7 separate regions of the Homo sapiens genome follow, and all the other regions are linked to region 1. Evidence: promoter capture Hi-C in 16 types of primary human blood cells and fetal thymus (Javierre and others, 2016). All regions are on one chromosome and are shown on one strand. Each heading gives the region's core, a stretch centred on a gene start or on the middle of the fragment in contact. The rest is flanking DNA. Distances are from core to core; before and after follow the strand shown. Region 1 holds the start of ARFGAP2 (ARF GTPase activating protein 2). Region 2 overlaps CKAP5 (cytoskeleton associated protein 5). Region 3 overlaps CKAP5 (cytoskeleton associated protein 5). Region 4 overlaps CKAP5 (cytoskeleton associated protein 5). Region 5 holds the start of CKAP5 (cytoskeleton associated protein 5). Region 6 overlaps LRP4 (LDL receptor related protein 4). Region 7 overlaps LRP4 (LDL receptor related protein 4).

Region 1 (3,741 bases), core at 445-2,944:
AGTGCCATGCCTAGCCAGGGCCGCACTCCCCAGCTGCCGGATCTTCTCCCGGTACATCTGGGCAGCTCGGCTATTATATTTGGTGTTGGCATCATTGGCTGTGCATCCATGTTGGCGAAAAAAAGCCGTCTGGAGAGCAAAGAAGAGAGCAGCGCGTGCTACGGGTGATTCTCAAGAAGGAAACGTGTTGGCTGTAGGAGACATCTCCTTATGACAGCGAAGTTATTATCTATACAGGATGATACACGCTACTGACACCGGTTTTTCAGAGATAAAGTTTCTCGAAATTCCTGCAAAAAACACCTTGCAGCGGGCCATCCTCTGATATGACTGAAGTCCAGGCCCCACTGAACGCTGCCTGAGCACAACATCCCATACCCAGCCTCCCCATCCTTCATCCAGGGCAGGCCCACAAGACCCAATGACTGTGAAGGCTCCCAACTCCTGTGGCTTTTCCCCAAGAACACCTGCCCAGTTTAATTGGAATCTGAAACCCATTTAAGAGAAGCTGTGACCAGTTTCGAAGTTTTCAGAAAATAGCTTATGGTGGTGTTATAGAACAGAGAACCCTCTGAACAGGGAAAACGACAGGGCCTCTTAGGGAGTCGTGCAAAGTTAGTAACCAGGCAGAAGAATGGAAGGTGAGGGAAGTAGAAGGAGCTTTACCGCATTGGCATTCCCGCCGACCTGCATACACCTCAGCTGGAACCAGTTCCAGTTGGAATCCAACTCTGTGGACCTGTGTACAAGGGCTGCGTCTCACCCACTAGCAGATACCAGCAGGATTTCCCTGGCAACCCGGATACCTGTCACTTGGCCTCAGGCTGCTGTAGGCACCCAGGAAACATTAATCAGCCATCACCCCATTTCCTCCACACTACCCTGTCCATGAAAACTCTCCTCTTCGTTCATTTACTCCAAAGAGTACTAATTATGTCCCCAGATCCGAAAGGAGGTCACATTCTCAGGCACGCACGCCTGGATTTGGCTTTCCCCTAATGGATGGTCACAGTCTCACTAGAGACATACTGGTCTAACAACATATCAGCAACAACAAGGTCAATGCCTCCCTTTCCCCTCAACTAACGCTCAGAGTCTCAAGCCTGACCGTCAAAAAAGAGGAAGTTTTGGCCCAGAGGCGGAGACGGACCGCCCATGTGCCAAAGGGCCCACACAGGTGGTTCCCTCTGGCAGGAGGCTACCGGACCCTCTCGGCCCAGAGGCTTCCCACCGAATTCAGAGCGGCCCAAGTCGAGGCAGCCACTCTCCCTTGTTGCCCAGACACCCCTGGCCGGCCGGGTGGAAACACGGCAACCGCGCGGAGAGCCTACCTGATGAAGCTCAGATGGACGCCCAGGGAGCGGTGCACCCCGGAACAGTCAATGCACAAGAAAACACCGTACGTGATGCTGGCCCAACTCGGATTCTTGGCGCCGCAGTCGAAACAGGCCTGGGTGGAGGCGGCGATGAGCGAATCGTCAGGGGCCCCGAGTAAAGGCCAGGCACCGACACCCCAGAAACATAACCCACCTCCGCCCTTCTCCCTCCCTCAGGCCCCAGCGGGACGAGAGACTCCGCGCGCCCCCTGCTCACGCACCTTGTTGGTTGGAACTGCGCGAAGCCTCTTAAAAAGAGTCTGGATTTCGGTCTTGTTCGGCTCCGCCGCCATTTTCTCTCCTTCCCAGACACAACCGCGGCTGACGGGTCCCGCCGCGGGCCAATCCACGGCGGGGAGGGCGGGCTCACCAGGCCGGCCTCAGCGGTGCCTGGGCCAGCCGAGGGGTGGGGTGATTGGAGTCCGATCTGGACCAATGGGCAGCCGGCGGGACGGGGGCGGCGACGACAACCGCGGCCGCAAGAATCAACGCCGCGCCGGGCCAATCCGCAGCCGGGGCGGGGCGACGGCGCGCGGACCGGCCCAAACCTCCTCGCGCGCGTAGTACCCTTCCCCCCGCCCCTCCCACGCCGCAACCCCCAGGTGGAGTCGCCCCCACGCCGCGCAGGCTGCGGGAGGCTGGGGGCGGGGACCCCCACTCCAGCTAATTACAGATCGATGAATAAGGATTAGGCTGCCCAAACACTCCTCGTCCCTCCGGCCCGAACGGGCAGACGCATTGGCCCGCGTCTCGCCCAGCCTTCAGCCGTTCTCGGTTAACAGCAAGCCTGACAGCGAGTCCCCTCCACTCCAGATTAGTATCTCGAAGTTCCAGAGCAGGTACCAAGCAGGCAAACCCTTTTCCAACCCCGGCCCCATAACAGACGCTAGGCCTCTCTCTAGATGCCCTCTGGTGGCCTGGCAAGGGTGTCCTATCAAAAAAATGCACATGAGCCCGACAGTGGTGTTTTTGTTTTTGTGTGTGGGTGTGTGTCAAGTTTTAATACACGCTAGAACAAGCCACAAGAGGGTGCTGCTAGGCCAGAACTACACTCACCCCAAGCCCACCCCAGGAACCCCAAAGCAGAGGTCAGGAACTGAGTCCACAGCTCCTGGGGAGGCCCAGGCACCCCTGAACGCTTCTGTCACCTCTGACCTCCCATCTTGCCCTCAGCCTAGACTCGTCCCTTCCCTACCAGTCCCTTCCCTAGACAAAGGCCCCTCCCCTCCCTGGGTCCCAGGACTTCCTCCCTCAAGGGACAGAGGAGCAGCCAGAGAGCGACGGTTCAGGGCCCTGAGGGTCCGGCTCTCCAGGAGAAGCTGGGCTCTGAACCAGGGTGGGTAAACGTTGCAGAAGGGCTGTCAGGACACTCAGGCGCCCACACACTCCACGTAGTTGGCAGGGTACAGGCCAATGCGGCCACTCTGCAACTGGCCTTGGCACCAGCCCTGCTCGTCCTCCTCACTCATCTTCAGCAGCTCCTCCCCTGGGGGAAAGGGGATTGGTCACTGCCAGTGGCCCTGGCCCAGGCCCTGTTCCTGCAACTGGGTCAAGGACTGAGGGGGATGGTGTGGTCCCAGAGCCCAGCTAGCAAAGACATGGCTCAGGCAGAGGCAGGTCAAGGTCAGCAAGCTGCCCCACCCCAGACCCTGAATGCAGCCACCAGGCACCAGCTATCTGGACCTGGAACAGCTGAAGGGACAGAGGACTGGCCCTTAAGAAGTGGGTATTTGGCTTCCCTTTCTGACACCCCTGCTCAGGCAGATAAGGCAGAGGCTGAAGCTAGGAAAGGGGTCCCAGGGTACCTGCTCGGAAGCTCAGCTCATCAGCTTCCTGGCCAGCGTAGTCATAGAGTGCCCTCACCCGAACCCCGGTGGCAGCCTTCCGGGGACTCTCTTCATCTGACCACTCCTCATCCTGCCCCGTGCTGGAGAGGGGAGGCAAAGGGAGCAGCTCAGAGTGCAAGGAACACGGGGCTGGAGATCTCACCCAGGATCAGGGCAAAGGCCTCCCTACCCCCAGAGGCACCTGGGAGAGTCAGGTGAGGTACTAAAGATTCTAGCTCTACCTCGCCATGCCCGACTGTGAGCAAAGAGGCAATTCCTGCCACACGCAGCTGATTTAAGGCATAAACGAGAGGGAATGTGGGAAATGCCCAGCAAATCTAAACCACTATGAGAACCAGTATCATTACAACTACTAAGTAGGCCCTCAGGTCCCTGGCACCAATTTTCAACCCATTTCAGGTGTGAAAGAAATGAAACCAAGGAGAAAGGAAAGGAGGGCGGGAGGCAGAGCTGTTTCTTTGCCACAGCCGCGCTCCTGGCTCTCACCCTGGGGACCCCGGGGACTGGGGTGGGGGTGC
Region 2 (3,741 bases), core at 737-3,236, 410 kb before region 1:
AATGAAGAAGCTTATACATCCAATTAATTAAAAAAAAAAATCAATGAAGATACCAAAAAAGCTACTAAATCATTTATTTCTATTTACAGGGAAAAATAGGCAATAACTCTATTCTATAGTTTCTTTTGTAGGAATTAATGCTCCCATAAACTAAATAATATAATTTATAAGCAAAAGAAACACTTAATTCCTAGATATTAAACAATAACATGAATTCAGACAGCAAAACTATTCTTGAATAACAATACAAGCAAAAATCTCCTGACGATTCTTAATCCTTCCTTACCTTCAATCCTTTTTCATCTTTCATCCTTTGCTCTTTTCCATTTGGAACAACAATAAAAATAGGCCCGGATTTGTCTTCATCCTCCTTTAAGCTGGTTTTGCTTGGCATCTTCTTCCCTTGTGCACTCTACAACCAAGGTTCAGGGAATACTGATTAGCTTGGCCACTTCTCCTTAAGAATATGATGCTGCTGCCCAGTAAAAGGGCACTGTAGAAAACAGAGATATCTTTCTACGTGATATTTCACATGAAAAAAACATGCATCACAGAATCTTGTATATGTTTTTGAACAGGTTCTCTAGAAATTTTTCTGAGAATATTCTTAAGTAACTGTTGGTTAGTTCTTGGACTGGCATGTTATGTAGTTGGAAAAACTGCTATTACTGATCATTAGTCTAGGTCACAAACTTTTTGTTTTTGTTTTCTTGAAATCTTCAACACTATTTATAGCTTTCCATATTAATGACATCTTTTTTTTTTTTTTTTTTTTTTTGAGACGGAGTCTCACTCTGTCGCCCAGGCTGGAGTGCAGTGGCGTGATCTCAGCTCACTGCAATCTCCACCTCCTAGGTTCAAGTGATTCTCCTGACTCAGCCTCCTCAGTAGGTGGGACCAAAGGCGCCCACCACCACCCCTGGCTAATTTTTGTATTTTTAGTAGAGACAGGGTTTCACCATGTTGTCCAGGCTGGTCTCGAGCTCCTGACCTCAAGTGATCCACCCACCTCAGCCATTAATGACATCTTGAATGGCATTTACACATTTCCAAACACTTAGTTTGAAAGCTTTTCTGTTTCTTTCCATTGATATTTAAATGTATCTCTTATCATAACAGTGTAACTGAAGACCTTTTGAACTTGCTTCTAGAGAAAGTTACAAGAAATGCTTTAAATATTTAAGTCACTAAAGTGGTTTTAAAAAATAATCCAAGATTTAAAATCTTCATATCAGATAGAAAGAAAATAGTAAACAATAGTACACATATTTAAGGTAAAATTCAAATTTCATTACTGGAATCATTATTATTATAAATGTAGCATGGCCACTATTTCTAGTTGGCCACAATTTCTTTCTAGTATAAACACTAATGTCATTCAGACCAAACAAATATGAGATCATTTATATGAAACTGCTTCGTAAGTTTAAAAAGATTGGGAAAAAAATTATGGCATTAAGAACGGAGTCAAAAATACTGCAAAACACTCGTGATCTAAACTAAAATAAGCACTTGTTAAATTTGGGATGAGGACAGGCAGACAGGAAAAGAACAACGTCATTGGATAGTTGAAGATAATTACCCATTTAAATTAATTCACTGAGGAGTTAAAGGGCCTGAGCATAGGGAAGAAAAATGGTTAATTGTAATATTTAGAAGAAAGGCCCTAGAGTGTGTACTCCAAAATGGGGGTGTAATAATACATGTACTGGTTAAAAAACATTCTCTATATTTTTTCATCAATTACAGGAAGTAAATTAAATAATTCTCTATTTAGACTTACTATTAGATTCATTACCCATTGCACAGTTTTGCAATTTTCCTTTTGTAAGTGTTAAATAATTAACACTCTGAATATGTTTATTAATCTCAATCTTGATAGAGATAATGACAATTTACTGTGATTTTAAAACTTAATTAAATGAAAAAATCACCCAGAGGATAAAGTTGAACATTTGAACACACTGCTTTAAATTGTCCAACTCTCCATGAATATTGAAAGAATTGCTGATGCATCAAAATAAATCCCACTGGGACAAAAGATATTTCCCTGCAGACTAACCGAAACATCTTCTAATATGATGACAACAGTGCCAAATTTGAAGGAGGTTGATTTAACTTCCTTTTCTTAAATCCAAATCAGCCTAAAGTGTTTATTATGCCAGAGCTACAAATGCTTTCTCCTTTTTTTTTTTTTTCCTGAGTCTCGCTCTGTCATCCAGGCTGGAGTGCAATGGCGAGATATTGGCTCACTGCAACCTCCACCTCCTGGGTTCAAGCGATTCTCCTGCCTCAACTTCCCAAGTAGCTGGGATTACAGGTGTGCCACCATGCCCAACTAATTTTTGTATTTTTAGGAGAGACAGGGTTTCGCTATGTTGGCCAGGCTGGTCTCGAACTCCTGACCTCAGGTGATCCGCCTGCCTCGGCCTCCCAAAGTGCTGGGATTACAGGCGTGAGCCACTGTGCCCGGCCCTTTCTTCTTTCAATAAAGTAAATCTTTCCCCGAAAATCTACATGAAAGGAAGATGACAGCACCTCTTGAGAGCAGGATGTCTCCGTTTTAGGACCTTATTAAAAATGAACCACAGAAATTTGTATAAATAATTTGATAATATCAACAGCAGTGATGTTCTTTTATATATAATATGATCCTTCCTAATAGAATGACTCAGTATATAAAATATATTTAAAAGCAAGTCTACATCGAAGTATACAGAGTTAACATACCTTTGCTTTAGAGGATAATCCTGGAGCTTTGGCCTTTTTTGGATCAGGTTTGGGTTCTGTACTGCTGGAAATACAATCTTCAGCAGGTGCTTTGAGGAAAAAAATATATATATACTATAAACTTTAACTAATATCATTTTATTTTGGACAGGTTAAATATATAATGATGACAAGGAAGCTTGCAGTCTTAAATGTATCAATTTATAAGATGTTTTCAGTTAGTTTTTTTTTTATGAGACAGGATTTTGCTCTATCTCCCAGGCTGGAGTACAGTGGTGCCTTCACGGTGCTCACTGCAGTCCTGACCTCCTGGGCTCAATGAATTCTCCCACCTCAGCCTCCCTAGTAGCTGGGACTACAGGCCCGTGCCACCGCACCCAGCTAATTTTCTTTGTAATTTTTGTGGAGACAGGGTTTCGCCATGTTGCCCAGGCTGGTCTCAAACTCCTGGGCTCAAGCAATCCACCCACCTTGGCTTCCCAAAGTGCTGGGATTACAGGCGTGAGTCACTGTGCCTGGCTTAGATTTTTTTTTCCTAATAATTTTTCTCCCAAAATCTTTAAGCGTAAGAGAGAAATTAATTCAGAAAATCTGTATCTCATTTACCAACATTTAAACTGTAGTTTCATTTGTTTGTTTAGACAGGGTTTCTGTCACACAGACTAGAGTGCAATAGCACGTTCAGGGCTCACTGCAGCCTTGACCTCCCTGGCTAAAACAGTCCTCCTACCTCAGCCTCCTGAATAGCTGGGACTACAGGCGTGCACCACCAAGCCCAACTAATTAAAACAACTTTTTTTTTTTTTTTAGAGACAGGGTCCCACTATGTTGCCCAGGCTGGTCTTGACCTCCTTGTCCTCTCAAAGTGGTGGAATTACAGGCGTGAGCCACCATGCCCAGCCCAGACTGATACTTTCTTAAAGGTAAAGACATCTTTGATATTCAGTATCTGCTACATAGCAAGATTTCAATAAAAACTGAATATGTACTTTAATAAAGAGTTTTACACAG
Region 3 (3,741 bases), core at 653-3,152, 390 kb before region 1:
TAAAATCTTGGTTTTGCCACTTTCCTAACTATGATGGGCCCAAATTACTTAAACTTTCTGTGCCTTAGTCCTCATCTATAAGATAGGGATAATATAATACCTCGCTTAGTTGTTATGATGATTAAATCAAATGAATTATGATTTAGAAAGTGCTTTTTAAAAGTACCTGGGATAAAGTAAACTGTATAAAGTTTTGTTTTAAATAAACAACCGTGCTCTATAAGCAAATAAGTTTGGGAACAGTGGGTTAAACAAAGTTAAACAAGCTCTTCTATTGCAGGATTTCTGACAGCAGTTAATTCGCCAAGGCATACTATAGGTCTTTAAACAAATGTAATTATATACAGAAATTTCCTAATGTATTTGACTAGAAATTCTTGGAACTGGATTTTCTGTGGGACAGCTATTAATGCTTAAGGAAAAATAACGTAGAGAACTCTTTCAGTGAACATCAAAAAGCAGGAACACAAGCCAATATAGACCTTTGAGAACAAAGGTAATTTTCTTTTATATAAATGAGACAATCCAGCTCTCACTCTTCAGAAATAAACAGCAATAGCTATTATTATAAACAGCACGACTTAGAGACTGACAGAACATTTAACTATTTTCCACTTGATTTCGTTCTGACTTACCCAGAAAAACCAAATTCTTTTATGGCATTTGATAGCCAATTCAGAGTTTCTGACTGATTTTTGGGATTCTTTTGTGAGAAAGCCATTGACACAACCTGAAAAGGGAAAAACAGCAGATCTGTGTTTTATCTCGTATTTCTTATAGAAATACAGCATGACATTAAGGCAGATGTGCATTAAACTAGTTTTCTGACGCTAAAACAACTGCAAGAATGCCTTAGGAACAAGAGTGAACCTACACAAGAAAATGAGGTGAAATGATAGTAGGACTAAAGGCATTCTGGACTATTTATAGCTTTGCAGCAATTACTCTGCATTATAATGTTTTTTTTTTTTTTTTAGAGACAGGGTCTTGCTCTGTCACCCAGGAGTACAGTGGCACAATCATCAATCATTGCAGCCTCAAGCTCGTGGGCTTTCACCTTCTATAGAATTTTTTGTTTATTTGTTTTGAGACAGTCTCACTCTGTTGCCCAGGCTGGAGTACAGTGGCGTGATCTCGGCTCACTGCCACGTCTGTCTCCCAGGTTCAAGTGATTCTCCTGCCTCAGCCTCCCTAGTAGCTGGCATTACAGGTGTGCACCACCACGCCTGGCTAATTTTTGTATTTTTGGTAGAGACGGGATTTCACCATGTTGGCCAGGCTGCTCTCAAACTCCTGGCCTCAAGTCATCCTCCTGCCTCGGCCTCCCAAAGTGCTGGGATTGCAGGTGTGAGCCTCTGTGTCTGACCGAATATTTTTGACTAAGATGAATTTTCATCACTAGGCAATAGAGTATTTTTTAAGGTAAAAATAAAAATGCAGTATCAAAGGGCCGGGCATGGTGGCTCACACCTGTAATCCCAGCACTTTGGGAGGCCGAGGCAGGCAGATCACCTGAGGTCAGGAGTTCGAGACAAGCCTGGCCAACGTGGCGAAATCCTGTCTCTATTAAAATTCAAAAATTAGGCAGGCGTGGTGGCAGGTGCCTGTAATCCCAGCTATGCGGGAGGCTGAAGCAGGAGAATCACTTGAACCCGGGAGGGTTGCAGTGAGCCGAGATTGCACCATTGCATTCCAGCCTGGGCGACAGAGTGAAACTCCATCTCAAAAAAAATGCAGTATCAAAAAAGATTTTACTTGAGAAGATAAAAACTAATGTTTAATTAGTAAGCTTAAAGTTTGGGGGAAAAAATTGGGAAAACTAGAGGAATAAGACTTCTGTGTCACTAACCTGTTCAGCAGTCCATGGTAACATACAGGCTTCGGCTATTGCTGTCATAGCTTCTTTTGCATTGTTCCCACATTTCACATCTCCAATCTTGTCCACAAGGCCATCTAATACAACCTGAGCTGACGTTTTGGAAAAATTTCCCTTCTGGGCAATCAAAGCAACTATATGAAGCTTCATTTGCATCACCTGAACAAGGATCAGTATCATAAAGCTAAGAGCAAGCCAAGGACATTTATTTATTTACTTGTATTAACAGCATGTAACAGATATGACATGGTTAGGGACAGCTGGAAACACAACTAAAGTAAAATCAGGATTTTAAACAAATATGCAAAATAATTTGTATCCTTTAATTGTTACCAATTACTTAACTGACAGTGAAGAGAGGGAAAAAAAGCTACTCAGTGTTCCAAAATACTAACAAGTAATATTGCACAGAAAGTTTATTAATTGAAAAATCTGATTTTTAAATTTTCCTCCTCTTATGATTATTTGCATTTAGTACTGAATACACACCCTAAAATACACAATAAATTACTATACTGACTGCATAACTGAGAATTACTACTAGGGCTGCCTACAAAAACACTACAACCCTCTTATACACACATGCAACACAGAACTTCAGAGATTTTAGAGAACTTGTTGGCTTTTAAGTATAAGAATAAAAAGATCTGTGGAAAATAATTTAAAGATATTATTGTGATGGCAGACCTATGGGATTAAGGACCCCTTTGCTCATAAATATTTTTCTTTGTACTGTGTGAATATTTTAACTTTTTTTGTTACGCCACTAGAAATCCTATTATACAGATTAATTTAGGTGACAAATACTCCCATTTATTTATGTATTTATTTGACAGAATCTTGTTCTGTCACCCAGGCTGGAGTGCAGTGGTGAGATATCAGCTTACTGCAACCTCTGCCTCCTGGGTTCAAGCGATTCTCATGCCTCAGCCTCGCAAGTAGCTGGGATTACTTACAGGCGCCCGCCACCACGCTTGGCTCATTTTTGTATTTTTAGTAGAGATGAGGTTTCACCATGTTGGCCGGGCTGGTCTCGATCTCCTGACCTCAAGTGGATCTCAAGTGGGATCTCACCTCAGCCTCTCCAAGTGCTGGGATTACAGGCGTGAGCCACTGTGCCCAGCCACACAAACATCCTCTTTTAAAATGCAATTATCGCCTGGCTCATGCCTGTAATCCCAGCACTTTGGTAGGTTGAGTCGAGGGGAATGCTTGAGCCCAGGAGTTCAAGACCAGCCTGGTCAATATGGAGGGACCCCAGCTCTACAACAAGTACAAAAATTAGTTGGGTATGGTGGCCCTCGCCTGTAGTCCCAGCTACTTGGGAGGCTGAGGTGGGAGGATCACTTGAACCCAGGAGGCTGAAGCTGCAGAGAGACATGTTGACACCACTGCACTATCTAGCCTGGGCAAGAGAGTGAGACTTTGTCTCAAACCCCCAAAATTTGACATAGCAGGCATGTGAAAAAATAAAAATTTAAAAAATTAAAAAAAAAATTCCCAAACCAAAAAACAAACCAAAGAAATGTAATTATCTTGGGTGGGACTTCTGCAATTGTGGAGTCAATACCTCTGAAAAACTGATCTTCCTCAAAAGCAACAAAGAACACTGGCAAAAACTATCCAAATCAACTTATCTCACAACTCTGAAAATTAAATAAGGCTTGTAACATACAAGAACCATTTAAAGAAAGGATGCTGAATTTTAGTAAGGACAGTGAGGTTTCTGGTGATTTAACTTGCCTTGCTCCCCTTTTCTTCCAGCTCCACAGTAGCCTTCAAAACCTGAAGTCTTGTAACCATGGCAACTATGAAAACCTAGAGCTGTGCAGCCACTGGCAGGTGGGGGGACAGCTCAGGTTTGG
Region 4 (3,741 bases), core at 343-2,842, 350 kb before region 1:
GATGAAAAAACTAGCCAGTTACTTTTCATAGATACCACTTACTTTTCACTTCACTAATATCTTTTCTTTGAATTCTTTCCAGAGACAAAAAAATTTTTAGTTGAGCTACAGAAACCTATTTTCAATGAGAAAAAATAACATATCTAACAAGGCATCAGTATTTTTGAAACTGCCAATGTTTTCACACACTTCTAAGTAAGATGATAGTATAACTGCTCACAAAACAAGCCAACGACACTGAAAATCGAATTCCAGAAGAATCTTACCTTGTGTTCACATTTCTGATCAACTGGCAGTTTCAACCACTCACTGTCATCTCCCATTGTGCTTCCAGGTTTTCCTTAGAATTAAGAGTATTTCCTGGTCAGATAAAGGTAGAAACCTGCTTAGCAACCAGGCAGTCTCTTAAGACAAAAATAACTTTTCTGAGATTATTATTTTATCATTCATGCAACAACAAGAGTAAAAATCCCGTTCTTTCGTCAGATCCCCACTTAATTCAATTAACAGGACTTTTTTTTTTTTTTTTTTTTTGAGACGGAGTCTCGCTCTGTCACCCAGGCTGGAGTGCAGTGGCCCGATCTCCGCTTACTGCAAGCTACACCTCCTGGGCTGACGCCATTCTCCTGCCTCAGCCTCCCGAGTAGCCGGGACTACAGGCACCCGCCACCACGCCCGGCTAATTTTTTTGTATTTTTAGTAGAGACAGGGCTTCACCATGTTAGCCAGGACAGTCTCGATCCTGACCTCGTGATCCACCCGCCTCGGCCTCCCAAAGTGCTGGGATTACAGGCGTGAGCCACCGCGCCCGGCCAATAGAATTTTTTTTTTAAAGTCACTCAAAAGACAGGACACAGTGGTGGCTCATGCCTGTAATCTCAGCACTTTGGGAGGCTGAGGTGGGCAGATCACCTGAGATCAGGAGTTCAAGACCAGTCTGGTCAACATGGTGAAATCCCGTCTCAATTGAAAATACAAAAATTAGCTGGGTGTGGTGGTGCAGGCCTGTAGTCCCATCTACTCGGAAGTCTGAGACAGGAGAATCGCTTGAACCTGGGAGGAGGAGGTTGCAGTGAGCCAAGATTGTCCCACTGCATTCCAGCCTGGGCGACAGAGTAAGACTCCATCTCAAAAAAATAAAGTCACTCAAAAAATATAAATATAAATATATTGCAGTCTGGGCAACATGGTGGAACCCCATCTATACTAAAAACACAAAAATTAGCCAGGCGTAGTGGTGTGTGTGCCTGTAGTCCCAGCTACTCGGGAAGCTGAGGTGGGAGGACTACTTGAGCCCAAGAGACAGAAGTTGCAGTGAGCTGTGATCATGCCACTACACTCCAGCATGGGCAACAGAGCAAGACCCTGTCTCAAAAAAACCAAAAATTTGTTTTCTAAAAAATGATGCTTTTATTTTCCCAAATAAGAACTTCTTAGATATAAAACGAAGCTGGAATAAAACTGAATTGCTGAGCTAAATGGCCTTTTAAAAGGCCAAGAAAAAAGTTTTGGAAAAAGTCATACTTTCACCTAGAATTACTTATAGAAAATAATCAATATGGGGGTCGGGTGTGGTGGCTGACGCCCGTAATCCCAGCAGTCTGGGAGGCCGAGCCGGGCGGATCACGAGGTCAGGATCGAGACCATCCTGGCTAACACGGTGAAATCCCATCTCTATTAAAAACACAAAAAATTAGCCGGGCTTGGTGGCTGGCGCCTGCAGTCCCAGCCACTCTAGAGGCTGAGATAGGAGAATGGCGTGAACCCGAGAGGCGGAGCTTGCAGTGAGCCGAGATCGCACTGCACTCCAGCCTGGGCAACAGACTCCGTCCCAAAAAAAAAAAAAAAAAAAAAAAGAAAGAAAAGGAAAGAATCAATATGTAAAAATGTTGATACTGCCAAGCTCCCTAATTCTAGCAAACATGACTAGTCAATGTTTATATAAACAAGTACAAAATTAAATCCCTGAATGAACCTTTATACATATTCTTTATGTAAACCATGTTTTTAAGTGAGGTTTAAAGTCAACATCCTTTTAATAACTTTATGCTACCTATCTTCTTTTTTTTGAGACAGCGTCTTGCTCTGTCGTCCAGGCTGGAGTGGAATGAACACGATCTTGGCTCGCTGCAACCTCTGCCTCCTGGGCTCAAGCGATCCTTCCACCTCTGCCTCCTGAGTAGCTAGGATTTGGTGGGACTGCAGGTGTGCACCACCATGCTCGGCTAATTTTGAAATTTTTTGTAGAGACAAGGTCTCGTTATATTGCCCAGACTGGTCTCGAACTCCTGGGCTCAAGTGATCCCACTGATCGTGAGCCACCGCACCCACCCCTATGCTATCTATCTAGACAACACCTTTTTCTTATAAAAGTAATGTGTGTAAACTGCAGAAAATTTAGTAACTACAGAAAAAAATCTAAGTATTAAAATACAATTTTACCACCACCTAATAACCATGATGAACACTAAAGTACGTATCCAGTTTTTTTTCAATACACATGTAGTAATATAAATCATATGAAAAAGACAGGCATAATCCCCTTACAACATTTTTGTTATATGATCACAAACATTTTCCCAGATTTGAGAATATGATGTTTAAAGTCTACATAGCACTCCATTTTACAAATGTACCATAATTACCAACCCTACCATTGGACATTTAAATTGTTTCCAATTTTTCTTTTTCATTTTTGAGACAGGGTCTCACTCTGTCACCCAGGCTGGAGTGCAGTGGTGTGATCACAGCTCATTGCAACCTTGATGTCCTGGGCTCAAGTGATCCTCCCAACCTCCGCCTCCCGGGTTCAAGTGATTCTTCTGCCTTAGCCTCCCAAGGAGCTGGGACTACAGGCACATGTCACCATGCCCAACTAATTTTTTAGTTTTTTGTAGAGATGGGGTCTTACTATGTTGCCCAGGCTGGCCGATTTTTCAATATTATTAATAACATAGAAGCGGTCCTCCGTAATTCTCCATCCCTAGTTCTGGCCTGACATAAAATATGTTTTCAATAAATATTTGTTTATTGAATATATACTCTGGTAATATCTATTCTGAATCAGGCATGGTGCAAAGTACTTTTTAAACACGCTAATTCACTTTATACTGACATCAACTATGTGAAGGAAAGATATTCTCATTTTACACACTAGCTTCACAAATATTAAGTAACCTGCCAAAACAACAAAACTGGTAAGCAATGAAATTAAACTAAGATTCATAGTCTATGCTTCTTCCTTTACATTTTGTTCCCTCCCATGGCAAAGAAGAAAATGTCCCAGAGAAAGATGGAATTGTAAAAGTTTATTAGGATATGTGGAACTTTCATTAAGATTTTTCTTCAAAATCCCTAGGATTGCCATGAAACAGCAGCAGTGTAATTTAAAGGAGTCAGGAGAATCTGCAGGAACTCAAATACACCAATGATGGGAGACAGAATAGTTTAACAGTCTGGAAAACAGTATGGCATTATCAGATACACATGCCCTACCACCCAGCAACTCCATTCCTAGGTGTATAGCCTAGAAACTGATGCAAATTACACCAGAAGACCTATATAGGGATAGTCATAGCAATGTTGTTCATAGTAGTCAAAAGCTGGAAACAGTTCACATGTTCATCAAACTGTGCTTTTCAAACTCAGGACCAGTCTTCCCCCTACCACCCCCACCAACTGAATACTAGTATGTCTGTAAAATACAATAAAAATTATTATACCTCTGTATTTTTTAAGTTG
Region 5 (3,741 bases), core at 800-3,299, 330 kb before region 1:
ATACCTTTGCTTGCCATTGCCTCAGTGAACAGCCTTTTAAAAAATTTTTTTTCTTTTTTTTGAGACAGAGGGTCGCTCTGTCACCCAGGCTAGAGTGCAATGGCGGGATCTTGGCTCACTGCAACCTCTGTCTCCCGGGTTCAAATGATTCTCTTGCCTCGGCCTCCCGAGTAGCTAGGATTACAGGCGCCCGCCATCACGCCCAGCCATTTTTTGTATTTTTAGTAGAGAGAGAGAGAGAGAGACGGGGTTTCACCATGTTGGCCCGACTGGTCTCAAACTCCTGACCTCGTGATCCGCCCGCCTCGGCCTCCCAAAGTGTTGGGATTACAGGCGTCAGCCACCGCGCCCAGCCTAAAATCTTATTTAAAAATTTTTTTACATGAGTTTACCAACTAGATTTAACTTATGGTTGCAAAATAAATTGATTTCACCTTTATCTATATCATTAAATTTGGTAAAAGCATTACAGTTTGTCCAGTCACTTCAGAGAAGTCAAAGTCTTCTACAATTTCTTAAAGTTTCAAAAGATTCTTAGCTTAATTTATTGGCTCTTTAGGTCAAAAGAAGGACTTTTCAGGGTGATGAAAATGGAGGAAGGAGGAGCTCACCTTTCTAAAAATGAGTTTTCAATTACTATAATTATGCATAAGACAGGCAGCATTTCTGGGCCAAGATTTGATGCCTTGGTCCCATGAGAATTAAATTAGAGCCACGCATAAATTTGGGGCAAGTTCTGCAAAAACCACTTCAACCTCTATTGATGCTGAATAAAAAACTCATTGTTAAGATTCATCAACACGAATATATTTTCTAACACACACTAGCCACTCTGGCAACAACCCTTTCATCATTTTCTATCCAAGAAACACAACGGAATGCATTTCAATCCTGCTCAACAATTACCACGATTACAAGTAGAGGGGAGAGCTCAAAAGTAAGAATCTAGTTCACCGAGCCCGACCTTAAAGTAGCAAGGCCCAACCCACACTGCTGGCTATTGTATTGGTTCCCCAACACCTCCAGGGCTGGAAGGACACCAGAACGCTCCCGACACGTTGAGAGAGAGAAAGCCAGTCGTTAAGGGCGGGGTGGTGGATGATCGGAATCGTTCACATCGCAGCAAGCCAGCAGGGACACAGGTGTGCGGCCAGGCCCCGGTGCCGCTGTCCTTGCTCCAGGGCGACAAGGCCCTTCGCAACCACCACAGCCCTCGTAGGCGCTTACTTATTCATTCACTTGACAATTACGCGAGAGGCACTCTAGCAGGGCCGGCTCTCGGGGCCCCCGCCCTAGTCTTGGTAAATCGCTGCCGCCAGGCGCGGCCCTGCACCGCCCGCGCCCCGCGGACGCTGCCACCCGCGCCACGCTGCGGCGCGCTCTGGCCACCTGGAGCCCAACCCCGGCCTCCGCCGCACACGAGCGCCCACGCCCCCGGCCCTGCCCGCCGCAGGTCCCCCGGCCTCCGGCTCGCTTCGCCGCCTCAGACCTGCCGGGTTCGTGGGGCAAGTGGGGCGCGCGTCTGGAGACCTCCAGCCGCCCAGGATTCAGGGGCTCCTCTGCGCGCGCGATGCCTGCACTCGAGGGCCTCGCGGGTGGGGCAGGCCCACCGACCACTCACCTCAGCTGGGTCAGAACCAAGCGGCCTGCTCTAAGCCGTTTGAAACCGCTTGGGCCGCCGCACACCCCGCAGTGTCCTCGTTCTTTATTGGTCCTCGACGGACCGCCCATCGGACTTTTATTGGTCCATTTGAAAGGCCTGTGGGCACGCGCCGCCCGCAGCCTTAAAGGGGCCGCGCGCAGCCGTGTTTCCCTCTGGACCAGACGCCGCCTGCACGGGTGGGGACGCTGGTCGCTGCCGGGGGCAAGTCTGCCGACTCCAGAAAGAAAGGCGAAAGAATGTGTGTAGACCCGGGCATCCTTGGTCGTCAGCATGTTTGCTTTATTTAATTACAGATGTTCAGGCTGCTGTCAACACCCGACAATTTTTTTTGGTCATTTCATTCCCTAGAGATTGTGAAGCTAAGTGCTGTGAGGGAAACCAGAGGCAGCTGAGATGTCGTGGAAGTAACAGCGAATGAAGCCAGGATGCTGGATTCTGACCTTGGAACTGTTCTGAGTAAATCACTTTTCTCAGTAAATCTTCTGGAGTTGTTTCCTTATCTGTAAAATGGGATAACGATGTTTCCCTTACAATTTAATGGAGGAGTTAATATAACTAATAGAATGTCTGAGAAAAGCCTTTGTGAACTGTAACGCATCCTGCAAATGCTTAATATTCCCTTATAAAAACGAGAGGCTTGGTTAACATGATCTCCAGAATTTTAGCTTAGCTCTACATTCAGTGTTTCTGTGAATGAGTTCAGGTCCTTACTTCCAAGGAATTTGTAATCTACAGTGGTTGGAGGAATATAACATACAGACTAGTCACTAAAATTCAAAGCAGTGTAATAACTGTATAAATGAAAAGCTATAAATGCTTAGAGACAGGAGAAATTTGATGGGGGAGGATCTGTGAGGAAGATGAATTTTTAACCTAGGATTTAAAGAATGTGTAGATTCCCAACAGGCTAAAAGATGGAGAGAGGATGGATAAAAGTAAATGAAACAATTACATGTTTTTTCATTGTCAAGTTGGCAGAGATGAAAAAGTTCAACAGCCTTTGGTTGGTCAAGATTTGGAAAAACAGGCTGGGTGCAATGGCTTATGCCTGTAATCCTAGCGCTTTGGGAGGCCGAGGCAGGAGGATTGCTTGAGGCCAGGAGTTCAAGACCAACCTGGGTCTTGCTATCAAGACCCCATCTCTGTTTTTAAAAATATAAAGAGATTTGGAAAAATGGACACTCAAAGTCAATATTGGTAAGAGTATAATTGGTACAAACCTTTAGGAGGACAATTTGACAGTTACTAAAATGTACATAATCTAGTTCTGGCCCAGTAATCCACTATGAGGAATTTATCGTACAGATCTGTGCAAGTATGCAAAGAAAAATGTACAAGGATGTTTACTGCAATACTGCTTTTTTTTTTTTTTTTTTTGAGACAGTCTCGCTCTGTCGCCCAGGCTGGAGTGCAGTGGCGCAATCTCAGCTCACTGCAACCTCCGCCTCCCGTGTTCAAGCGATTCTCCTGCCTCAGCCTCCTGAGTAGCTGGGACTACAGGCACGTGCCATCACACCTGGCTAATTTTTTGTAGTTTTAGTAGAGACGGAGTTGCACTGTGTTAGCCAGGCTGGTCTTGATCTGCTGACCTCGTGATCCTCCCGCCTGGGCCTCCCAAAGTGCTGGGATTACAGGCGTGAGCCACTGCACCCGGCTTTTTTTTTTTTTTTTTCTGACAGAGTCTCTCTCATGTCACCCGGGCTGTAGTGCAATGGCGTGATCTTGGCTCACTGCAACCTCCATCTCCCGGGTTCAAGCAATTCTCCTGCCTCAGGCTCCCAAGTAGCTGGGATTACAGGCACCTGCCACCACGCCCGGCTAATTATTTTTTATTGTATTTTTAACAGAGATGGGGTTTCACCATGTTGGTCAAGCTGGTTTCAAACTCCTGACTTCAGGTCATCCACCTGCCTCAGCCTCCCAAAGTGCCGAGATTACAGGCGTGAGCCACTGTGCCCGGCCCTTTTTTTTTTTTCTTTTTTTTTCTTTTGAGATGAAGTCTCGCTCTCTCGCCCAGGCTGGAGTGCGATGGCACCATCTCAGCTCACTGCAACCTCCACCTCCCAGGATCAAGCGAT
Region 6 (3,741 bases), core at 893-3,392, 310 kb before region 1:
CTGTTCTGGTGACTTACTTCTAATGAAAAGATTATGCAAATGTGATGGCTACTAGATTAGGTTACCAAGAAACTGGTTCTGGTCTTGAGTTGCCCTCCCTCATTCTCTTTTGCTCTTGCTCTGGGAGAAGCAACCTGCCATGTTGTAAGTTGTCCTATGGAGAGGCCCACAAGGCAAGAAACTAATGAGGAAGGCCTCCAGCCAACAGCCTATGAGGAGCTGAATCCTACCAACAACTATGTGAGTGAGTGTGGAAGGGGATCCTTCCCCGGTCAAACCTTGAGATGAGACTGTAACCCCAGCTGATATCTGGATTGCAGTCTGTGAGACACCTTGAGGCAGAGGCACCTAGCTAAGCTGCATCCAGATTTCTGACCCATAGAAACTGTGAGATAATGGTTGTCATTTTAAGTCACTAAGTTTTCGGGTAATTTGTTATGCAGCAATGGAGAACTGATGCACTGAGCTTTAGAGTCAGACAGATCTGTTTCAATTCCACCTCTGTGATTTATTAGCTGGGACCTTGATAGATATAATCTAAACTCTCTGGCTGGGTGCGGTGGCTCACACCTGTAATCTTGGCACTTAGAGAGGCTGAGGTGGGCAGATCACACAAGGCCAGGAGTTCGAGACCAGCCTGACCAACATGGAAGAAACCCTCTCTCTACTAAAAATACAAAAAAAAAAAAAAAAAAAAAAAAATTAGCTGGGCATGGTGGTGCATGCTTGTAGTTCTAGCTACTTGGGAGGCTGAGGCACAAGAATTGCTTGAATCCAGGAGGCAGAGGTTGCAGAGAGCCAAGATTGCACCACTGCACTCCAGCCTGGGCAACAGAGTGAGACTCTATCTCAAAAAAATAAGACAAAAATTAAAAAAAATAAACTTTCTGAGCCTCAGATCCTCATCTGTAAAGTGAGGAATAATAATACCTGTGTTACGAGGTTGTCATGACATTGATATATATCCATTAATGGTAACTGTTACGATGATGATGATGAAGAACAACAGCAGCAAACTGTAAGCTACGTTTAAAGCATTTGGGGGAAAATATAAAGAAAGAGGGACATAAAAAGATTATAAATGACACATTCTACCTTTCCAGAATGATTGCTACTGAGCAAAGATGTACAAACCAATATTGTAGTAAAAGGCTGTGTTTGTATAAGGGGAAAATCATTTCCAATTTCAGTGGTTTGAAGCAGGGAGTACTGGAAAAAGCAAAGATGTTAAGAGTCAGTCTTAGATTTGCCTCTTACTTTGTGACCTTGGGTAATATCCTCTGTGCACTCAGCATCCTAGTCTATAAAGAAAATCCGAAGGGTTGTTACAGTCATTCAATAAGGAAAATGCTTAGGCTGTGACTGGAGAAGAGTAAGTATTTAGGTTTCCACCCTTTCCTTCTGCTGCCCTGACCAGGCACCCAACCTTGCAATAAGGCTGGTCAGAGCTTGATTCAGTGAACTGCAGAGCTTCGGGAGATCCCAGACATGCTCATGAAGACCAATGAGCATGTGGCCCCTGTAGCAAGACTGAAGTTACCTGTACAGCATCAAAGCTGCAATCACCACCAAAATCAGCAGAATACTGAGGAGTCCACCAATGGCGTAGCTGATATGAAGTCCTTCCCCTAGGAAGAATAGAGAAACACTAGGCAGGGGCCACCGACAACTTTCTAGCGGTGCTGGTGTGAGGAATGGAAAGCTGAAAGGCTCCTTTTGTAGGTGTTGGACCCCATACCATCTGAGGATGGCTAAGGGCCTCCTTTTCAGATAGGTAAATGGGAGGTGCAGGGAGGAGGCTGAGAAGAAATCTGTCACTCTGCCAGCATCTCTGATCCCATTTCGACCACTTCCTAGCTATCTGACATAAGGCAAGATGCTTAACTTGTAAGCCTACATTTTCTCTTTAGTTAAATGTAAATAATAAATTGCTCATAGGACTGGAGGAAATTACATGAGAGTATGTATATATGCATGTGCACACACATATAATGTGGCATATATATGGCTTATCACATGCCTGGCATACGGAAAGCATACCATAAGCTGTCACTGTAAGTGGTGAGAGCTATTATGATTATTATTTCTATGGACTTAGTTTAAAAAGAGTTCATCAACCCCAGAGTCCCAATGAAGGTTATGAAAGATATCAGTGGAGACTTAGATTCATTACATCTTCTTTTCCGGAACAGTGGGGTACTCAGGGCTTACCTGGAGCAGCAGGAACAGCGTCATTGGAACGTGCACAGAGGCCCAGCCTGGCATCCCTTTCAGAGCATCTGTGGGGCACAGAAAACTGGATGTGAAGCCTACTCATACTCAGTGAAGGTCATGCCTTCCTCCAGGAAAGGGGGAAAGGCCTGTAAGTGGGGGCTTTCAGGTATGAGAATGTACAAGATGGAAGACATCAGAAGCATGGAGAGGGCAACAACAGGAAATGGAGAGAAATCCGTGCAAGGCACTGTTTTCAAGCCGTTATACCATGTTTAAGTGTGTTATAAAATATGTACCTTTAAAAATGAGAAGCAGGTTTGGGAGTGAGTTGGAAGTCTGCAGAAAGAATACTAAGGACATCAATATTAGGCTTTCTTAAACTACCAGGATGAGTCAGAAGCAGCTGCTAGCCAAGCCAATCTGATTGGATAAAAATTATCACAAGAGCTAAATATCCCAAGGTCAAAAAATGTTTTTCTTCTCTTCATTCTTTCACAAGGGAATATGCAAGACATCCAGAGGGAGTGCTCAGATAACTAACTTGAAATGCTCAGAAGGTGACTTCTTTGTGGTACATTATGAGCAGGCAATCAAAGGCATCTCCTAAACAGCCAGAGGAAAGCTACTTGCAAGAGCATTTGGAACCAAGATGCACTGAATTTTCAAATAGAACTCTGACAATAAGAAAAGGTCCGAGCGGGGTCAAAAGTTTTCTAAATAAACCTAAAGAAAATCCGAGAGTAATAATGACTGATAGTACTTAAAAGTTAGTGAGAAAGGCACATGTTTATACCTGGGTGTTTCCTTTTCTTTACAAACTGTAGTAAAAACAGAGAATGGGGGCACACAGCATATGAATTTGATCATGTGCAAATCTTGTAACTTTAGGGACATTGAGTCTAAAGTTTTTATTTGGGATCATTATTATGTTTCTGCTTTCAGAATTGAAATCAAGTGTTAACTACCTTGTAAGCTACTGATGATATTAAAAATAAAGAGACCAGTATGTTGCAGTGGAAAAAAAAAAAAACTGTTCTAATTAGAAAAATGTCTAGAAAAGATAGACATCAAAACATTAAGAGTAAATTATATATAGGTATAGGATATTCCCTTCTTCTTTATTCACATATGTATTTCCAGATTATTTATTTATTTATTTTTTGTTTTTTGTTTTTTTTTTGAGACAGGGTCTCAGTCTGTCACCCAGGCTGGTGTGCAGTGGCACAATCACAGCTCACTGCAGCCTAAACCTGGGCTCAAGCAATCCTCCCAACCTCAGCCTCCCAAGTAGCTGGGACTACAGGCATGGGCCACCATGCCTGGCTAATTAAAAAAAAACTTTTTTGTAGAGATAGGATCTCACTATGTTACCCAGGCTTGTCTTGAATTCCTGGACTCATGTGATCTGCCCACCTTGGCCTCCCAAAGTGCTGGGATTACAGGTATGAGCCACTGCGCCTGGCCCAGATTATTTTTTATAAAATATAAATGGAAAACACAGTCATTAGAATTTTTTGCCAGGTGCAG
Region 7 (3,741 bases), core at 705-3,204, 270 kb before region 1:
TAAATTTTAAAACGCACAAATATGCGGTACATATACACAAACATATTCACATAAATACAGAGAGACCTATTTAAAGAAACTCCCTGTTGTGTTCTCTTACACGTGTTGTCAAGTTTGTTTTCTTGGACATATATGCATGAACCAACCAAAAGAAACACAGGAGAGTTGGAGCCATATATAGTGAAGAAACTACCCAAATGTCAATATCTATCAAGCTTGCAAAAGACCAACTCTCTGAGTCCGACACAGTTGATGCAGAAAATACTCCATCAGCCTTGTCCTTGCCCCCCACCCCCAGGTCCCTCTCCACCACCTCCCACTGCCTCTGGGGAGGTACTTACTACATCCATCCTCATCGCTGTGGTCCCCGCAGTCATTGTCTCCATCACACTGCCACTGGGCAGGGATGCAGGTACACTCTCCAAGAGCACTCACTGCACATGTGAAGTGGCTCCGACCACAAGCACACTCGGGGCTGCTGGCCAGGCCTGGGCGGAGGGAAAAGGAATCAGTGAGGGCTCAGCTCCCACTCAACCCAAGCCCATTCCGAGGGGAAAGTAGAGGAGCCTAGTCCAGGGGCACTGTCACCTGGAGAGTCACAGTGACACTTCAAGGGAGATGCAGGCAGTAAAACCATGCCTCCTCCAGGGCATAAACGACCCAGCAGATACCCTCTGACTTTGGGCTTACAAAGAGTCCAGGTGACCCGCTCTATGACAGGGCTTTTTTGCATGGCACCTCTAAGGGCCCAGAAACAGATGATGCCACCTAGGCTAGGCACAGTGGCTCATACCTATATCACAGCACTTTGAGGGGCTGAGATGGGAGGATTGATTGAGCTCAGAAGTTCAAGACCATCGTGGGCAACATAGTGAGACCTTGTTTCTACAAAAAACTAAAAAATTAGCTGAGGGTAGTGGCATGTGCCTGTAGTCCCAGCTACTTGGGAGGCTGAGGTGGGAGGATTGCTTGAACCTGGGAGGTCAAGGCTGCAGTGAGCTATGATCACACCACTGCACTCCAGCAGGTGCAACAGAGCAAGACCTTGTCTCAAAAAAGAAAAAAAGAAACAACCCCCTCCAAAAAAAAATGATGCCACTCAGAGGTTTGGTGCTTTTGAAGAAGAGGAACAAGGGACAGAAAGGGTGATGTTGAGAGGCCTCCATAGCCTTCTCACTAAAACTAGGTTGAGATATGGACGCTCTGCCTCTGTCTTGGACCAGACCCTGGGATGTTGGCCAGGGAGGGCAAGAACTAATGGTGGAATTAAAATGCTGGAGCCTCTTTAGGATAAGGAATCCACACAGGGGAGCAGGAAGCAGGGTGGGCTGCTCTGAGTCCCCCAGGCCACCTCAGGGCAGAGTAACTGGGACCTGCCAGGGCCTTCCTGTCTGTGGCACAGGCCACAGCCTTGAGGAAGGCTGGCAGATGCAGCCTCTCCCCCGGCTTCAGCAGCACGCAGCTGGGCTTCCCTATTGAGCATCGAGCTATCTGCCTGGCCAAGTCCCATGACCAGCTGCTGTGCCCCCTCCCCAGCGTGCCCAGCAGGATGCCCTGGGATGGCGTGTGAATGGCTCAGTGCCCTGCTCCAGCCTCAGCTGGAACAAAGGGTTCTGCCAGGGTCACTCTCCCCCCTCCCAGCATTCATCCAACCCGCTGGGCTGCTCTGCTCGCAGCTGGGGAAGGAGGGGGCCGCAGCGCATGGCTCATCTCTCCCCCTTCCTTTCTTCTCCTCTTCCTTCCCTCAGCTGGACCCTGCCCTCAGGCTGGGCTGAAACAGAGAAGGAGTCAGCTCGAAATTGTCACCCCTCTTCCTATACTCTGTACCTGGTCCAGCTTTTCTCTCTCAGCTCATCTCCTTGATGTACATCCTTGTCTCACATTATAATTCCTTGGCCTAGCCTAGGGCTTAGGGCCAGGATAAAAAGGTGTGCTGCCATGCCCTCCAAAAGCAGGGAGAGAGCTCTAGAACTTTCCCTCTCCATCTCAACCCCAAGAGTAAGTGCAAGCATAAGGTAAAACTTCCTAGCCTGCAATGCATGGATGGATGGATGGATGGACGGACAGACGGATGGATGGATGGATGGATGGATGGCTTTTGGGTTCTGTGAATCCCTGATGCTACAGGTATAATGTACGTTTCTGGGGTAAGGGATCACAGCTTTCACCAGATTCTCAACTGAGGCCTGGCCCTCTCCCTCCACATGCTATGGTAATCAGCTGCTCTAGAAAAGATGCAGGATTGGGCTGGGCACGGTGGCTCATGCCTGTAATATCAGCACTTTGAGAGACTGAGGCAGGTGGATCCTTTGAGCACAGCAGTTTTGAGACCAGCCCGGGGAACATGGCAAAACCCTGTCTCTACAGAAAAGAAATTTACAAAAGTTAGCCAGGCATGGTGGTGGACACCTGTACTCTCAGCTACTTGGGAGCATGATGTGGGAGAATCACTTGAGCCCGGGAGGTTGAGGCTGCAGTGAGCCATGATCTCACCACTGCACTCCAGCCATGGTGACAGGATGAGACCTTGTCTCAAAAAAAAAAAAAAAAAAAAAAAAAAAGATGCAGGATTTCCTGCGGAAGCCAAGTGAGGTCCAGTTGGGAGGTGCAGTGTCTCTAGACCTCACAGGAAGGCCTTGCTCCAAGCCCAGTGCTCCTGTCTCTTCGGGTCTCTCTACAAATGCAGGGTAGAGGATTCTTCCCCAGGAAGCACTAAAAGACCCAGGTGCCCCTGCCCCCACTCCATCCTTTCTGGCCTGAGAACTCTGAGAAGGGAGGAGGGTTTTTCTCACTCAGATCCTGGACAACACAGCCTGAGGAACTTCAGTAGTATGACAGGCTCAGCACAGCTGTAGGCACCCTTTTGGTGAACTCTAGCTGGATTGAACAGCAAAGATGTTTAATTCCACTCCATGTGATGGGACTCCCCGGTACACAGATCCCCTTCATGGGGTATCATGGTGAAGAAAAAGGATAAGGCTAATAAGGATCTCAACTGGGGATATTTTGTCCCCCGGAGGACATTTAGCAATGTTTGGAGACATTTTTGGTTGTCCTGCTTGGCGGTGCTTACCGACATCTGGTGGGTAGAAGCTAGGGATGCTGCTAAAGACTCTATAACGTGTATAATTCTATACAGGATTACACGCCTGTAATCCCAGCACTTTGGGAGGCCCAGGTGGGCGGATCACCTGAGGTCAGGAGTTCAAGACCAGCATGGCCAATGTGGTGAAACCCCCGTCTCTACTAAAAATACAAAAATGAGCCGGGTATGGTGGTGGGCACCTGTAATCCCAGCTACTTGGGAGGCTGAGGCAGGAGAATTGCTTGAACCCAGGAGGCAGAGGTTGCGGTGAGGGGAGATCATGCCATTGCACTCCAACCTGGGCAACAGGAGCGAAACTCCGTCTCAAAAAAAAAAAAAAAAATCTATAACATGCAGACAGGCCCCTATGACAAAGAATTATCTGGCCCAAAACATCAACAGAGGTTGAGAAATGCTGCTAACCACACACAGTAGGGAGTGGGGATGTACCAGACGGGAGTTCAGGATGAAAGCTGTGGAAAGGACAGAGAGGAAGTAGGGGGGAATAGGAGGAGGAGGTTAGGCAGAGGACAAAGCACTGGACCTGGAGCAGACAGACTTGGGTTCCATCGACCAGCCAGTTGACCTTGTGCAAGTCACGTAGCCCCTTAAGCTTCAGTTTTCTTGTTTGTAAAAAAGCCACAAGGGGCTGAACA

What was found. The method cuts DNA at HindIII sites, captures the fragments that hold promoters and counts their contacts. A CHiCAGO score of 5 or more calls a contact.
Region 2: a contact is called between a fragment that was not itself captured here and the fragment with the promoter of ARFGAP2 in region 1, in 2 of 17 cell types (erythroblasts and M1 macrophages). The highest score is 7.0, in erythroblasts.
Region 3: a contact is called between a fragment that was not itself captured here and the fragment with the promoter of ARFGAP2 in region 1, in 3 of 17 cell types (M1 macrophages, megakaryocytes and M2 macrophages). The highest score is 11.2, in M1 macrophages.
Region 4: a fragment that was not itself captured here is called in contact with the fragment with the promoter of ARFGAP2 in region 1 in 3 of 17 cell types (M0 macrophages, erythroblasts and megakaryocytes); the score reaches 6.8 in M0 macrophages.
Region 5: a contact is called between a fragment that was not itself captured here and the fragment with the promoter of ARFGAP2 in region 1, in 6 of 17 cell types (M1 macrophages, megakaryocytes, M2 macrophages and 3 more). The highest score is 9.6, in M1 macrophages.
Region 6: a contact is called between a fragment that was not itself captured here and the fragment with the promoter of ARFGAP2 in region 1, in 2 of 17 cell types (M2 macrophages and erythroblasts). The highest score is 6.6, in M2 macrophages.
Region 7: a contact is called between a fragment that was not itself captured here and the fragment with the promoter of ARFGAP2 in region 1, in 9 of 17 cell types (M2 macrophages, M1 macrophages, megakaryocytes and 6 more). The highest score is 13.7, in M2 macrophages.

The regions. Positions count from the first base shown.
Region 1 is chr11:47,175,185-47,178,925 of GRCh38, forward strand. It overlaps ARFGAP2 (ARF GTPase activating protein 2), which reads right to left and starts at 1,695. Exons shown (of 16, transcript NM_032389.6): 1 at 1,598-1,695; 2 at 1,332-1,450; 3 at 667-739; 4 at 1-129. The coding sequence starts at 1,669. PACSIN3 (protein kinase C and casein kinase substrate in neurons 3) reads right to left here. Exons shown (of 11, transcript NM_016223.5): 9 at 3,710-3,741; 10 at 3,182-3,303; 11 at 2,338-2,862. The coding sequence ends at 2,747. RefSeq lists enhancers at 1,443-1,672, 2,214-2,795, 2,643-2,692, 2,773-2,822 and a silencer at 1,723-2,152. The HindIII fragment of the contact is 14,588 bases long and covers 1-3,741 here.
Region 2 is chr11:46,764,845-46,768,585 of GRCh38, forward strand. It overlaps CKAP5 (cytoskeleton associated protein 5), which reads right to left. Exons shown (of 44, transcript NM_001008938.4): 27 at 2,731-2,819; 28 at 287-412. Among named protein-coding and RNA genes, the nearest start is that of SNORD67, 4.2 kb to the left of the region's middle. The HindIII fragment of the contact is 1,839 bases long and covers 1,068-2,906 here.
Region 3 is chr11:46,782,639-46,786,379 of GRCh38, forward strand. CKAP5 (cytoskeleton associated protein 5) reads right to left here. Exons shown (of 44, transcript NM_001008938.4): 17 at 1,850-2,035; 18 at 636-730. Among named protein-coding and RNA genes, the nearest start is that of SNORD67, 22 kb to the left of the region's middle. The HindIII fragment of the contact is 231 bases long and covers 1,788-2,018 here.
Region 4 is chr11:46,820,909-46,824,649 of GRCh38, forward strand. CKAP5 (cytoskeleton associated protein 5) reads right to left here. Exons shown (of 44, transcript NM_001008938.4): 2 at 267-360. The coding sequence starts at 323. Among named protein-coding and RNA genes, the nearest start is that of CKAP5, 24 kb to the right of the region's middle. The HindIII fragment of the contact is 8,913 bases long and covers 1-3,741 here.
Region 5 is chr11:46,844,599-46,848,339 of GRCh38, forward strand. CKAP5 (cytoskeleton associated protein 5) reads right to left here and starts at 1,682. Exons shown (of 44, transcript NM_001008938.4): 1 at 1,622-1,682. LRP4-AS1 (LRP4 antisense RNA 1) reads left to right here and starts at 1,813. Exons shown (of 3, transcript NR_038909.1): 1 at 1,813-1,901; 2 at 2,012-2,119. RefSeq lists enhancers at 925-1,502, 1,957-2,076 and silencers at 1,337-1,486, 1,667-1,746. The HindIII fragment of the contact is 8,680 bases long and covers 1-3,741 here.
Region 6 is chr11:46,862,908-46,866,648 of GRCh38, forward strand. It overlaps LRP4 (LDL receptor related protein 4), which reads right to left. Exons shown (of 38, transcript NM_002334.4): 35 at 2,212-2,279; 36 at 1,541-1,628. The region is part of intron 2 of LRP4-AS1 (LRP4 antisense RNA 1); the gene reads left to right. Among named protein-coding and RNA genes, the nearest start is that of LRP4-AS1, 18 kb to the left of the region's middle. The HindIII fragment of the contact is 5,453 bases long and covers 1-3,741 here.
Region 7 is chr11:46,902,442-46,906,182 of GRCh38, forward strand. LRP4 (LDL receptor related protein 4) reads right to left here. Exons shown (of 38, transcript NM_002334.4): 2 at 342-488. Among named protein-coding and RNA genes, the nearest start is that of LRP4, 14 kb to the right of the region's middle. RefSeq lists an enhancer at 3,488-3,741. The HindIII fragment of the contact is 3,483 bases long and covers 214-3,696 here.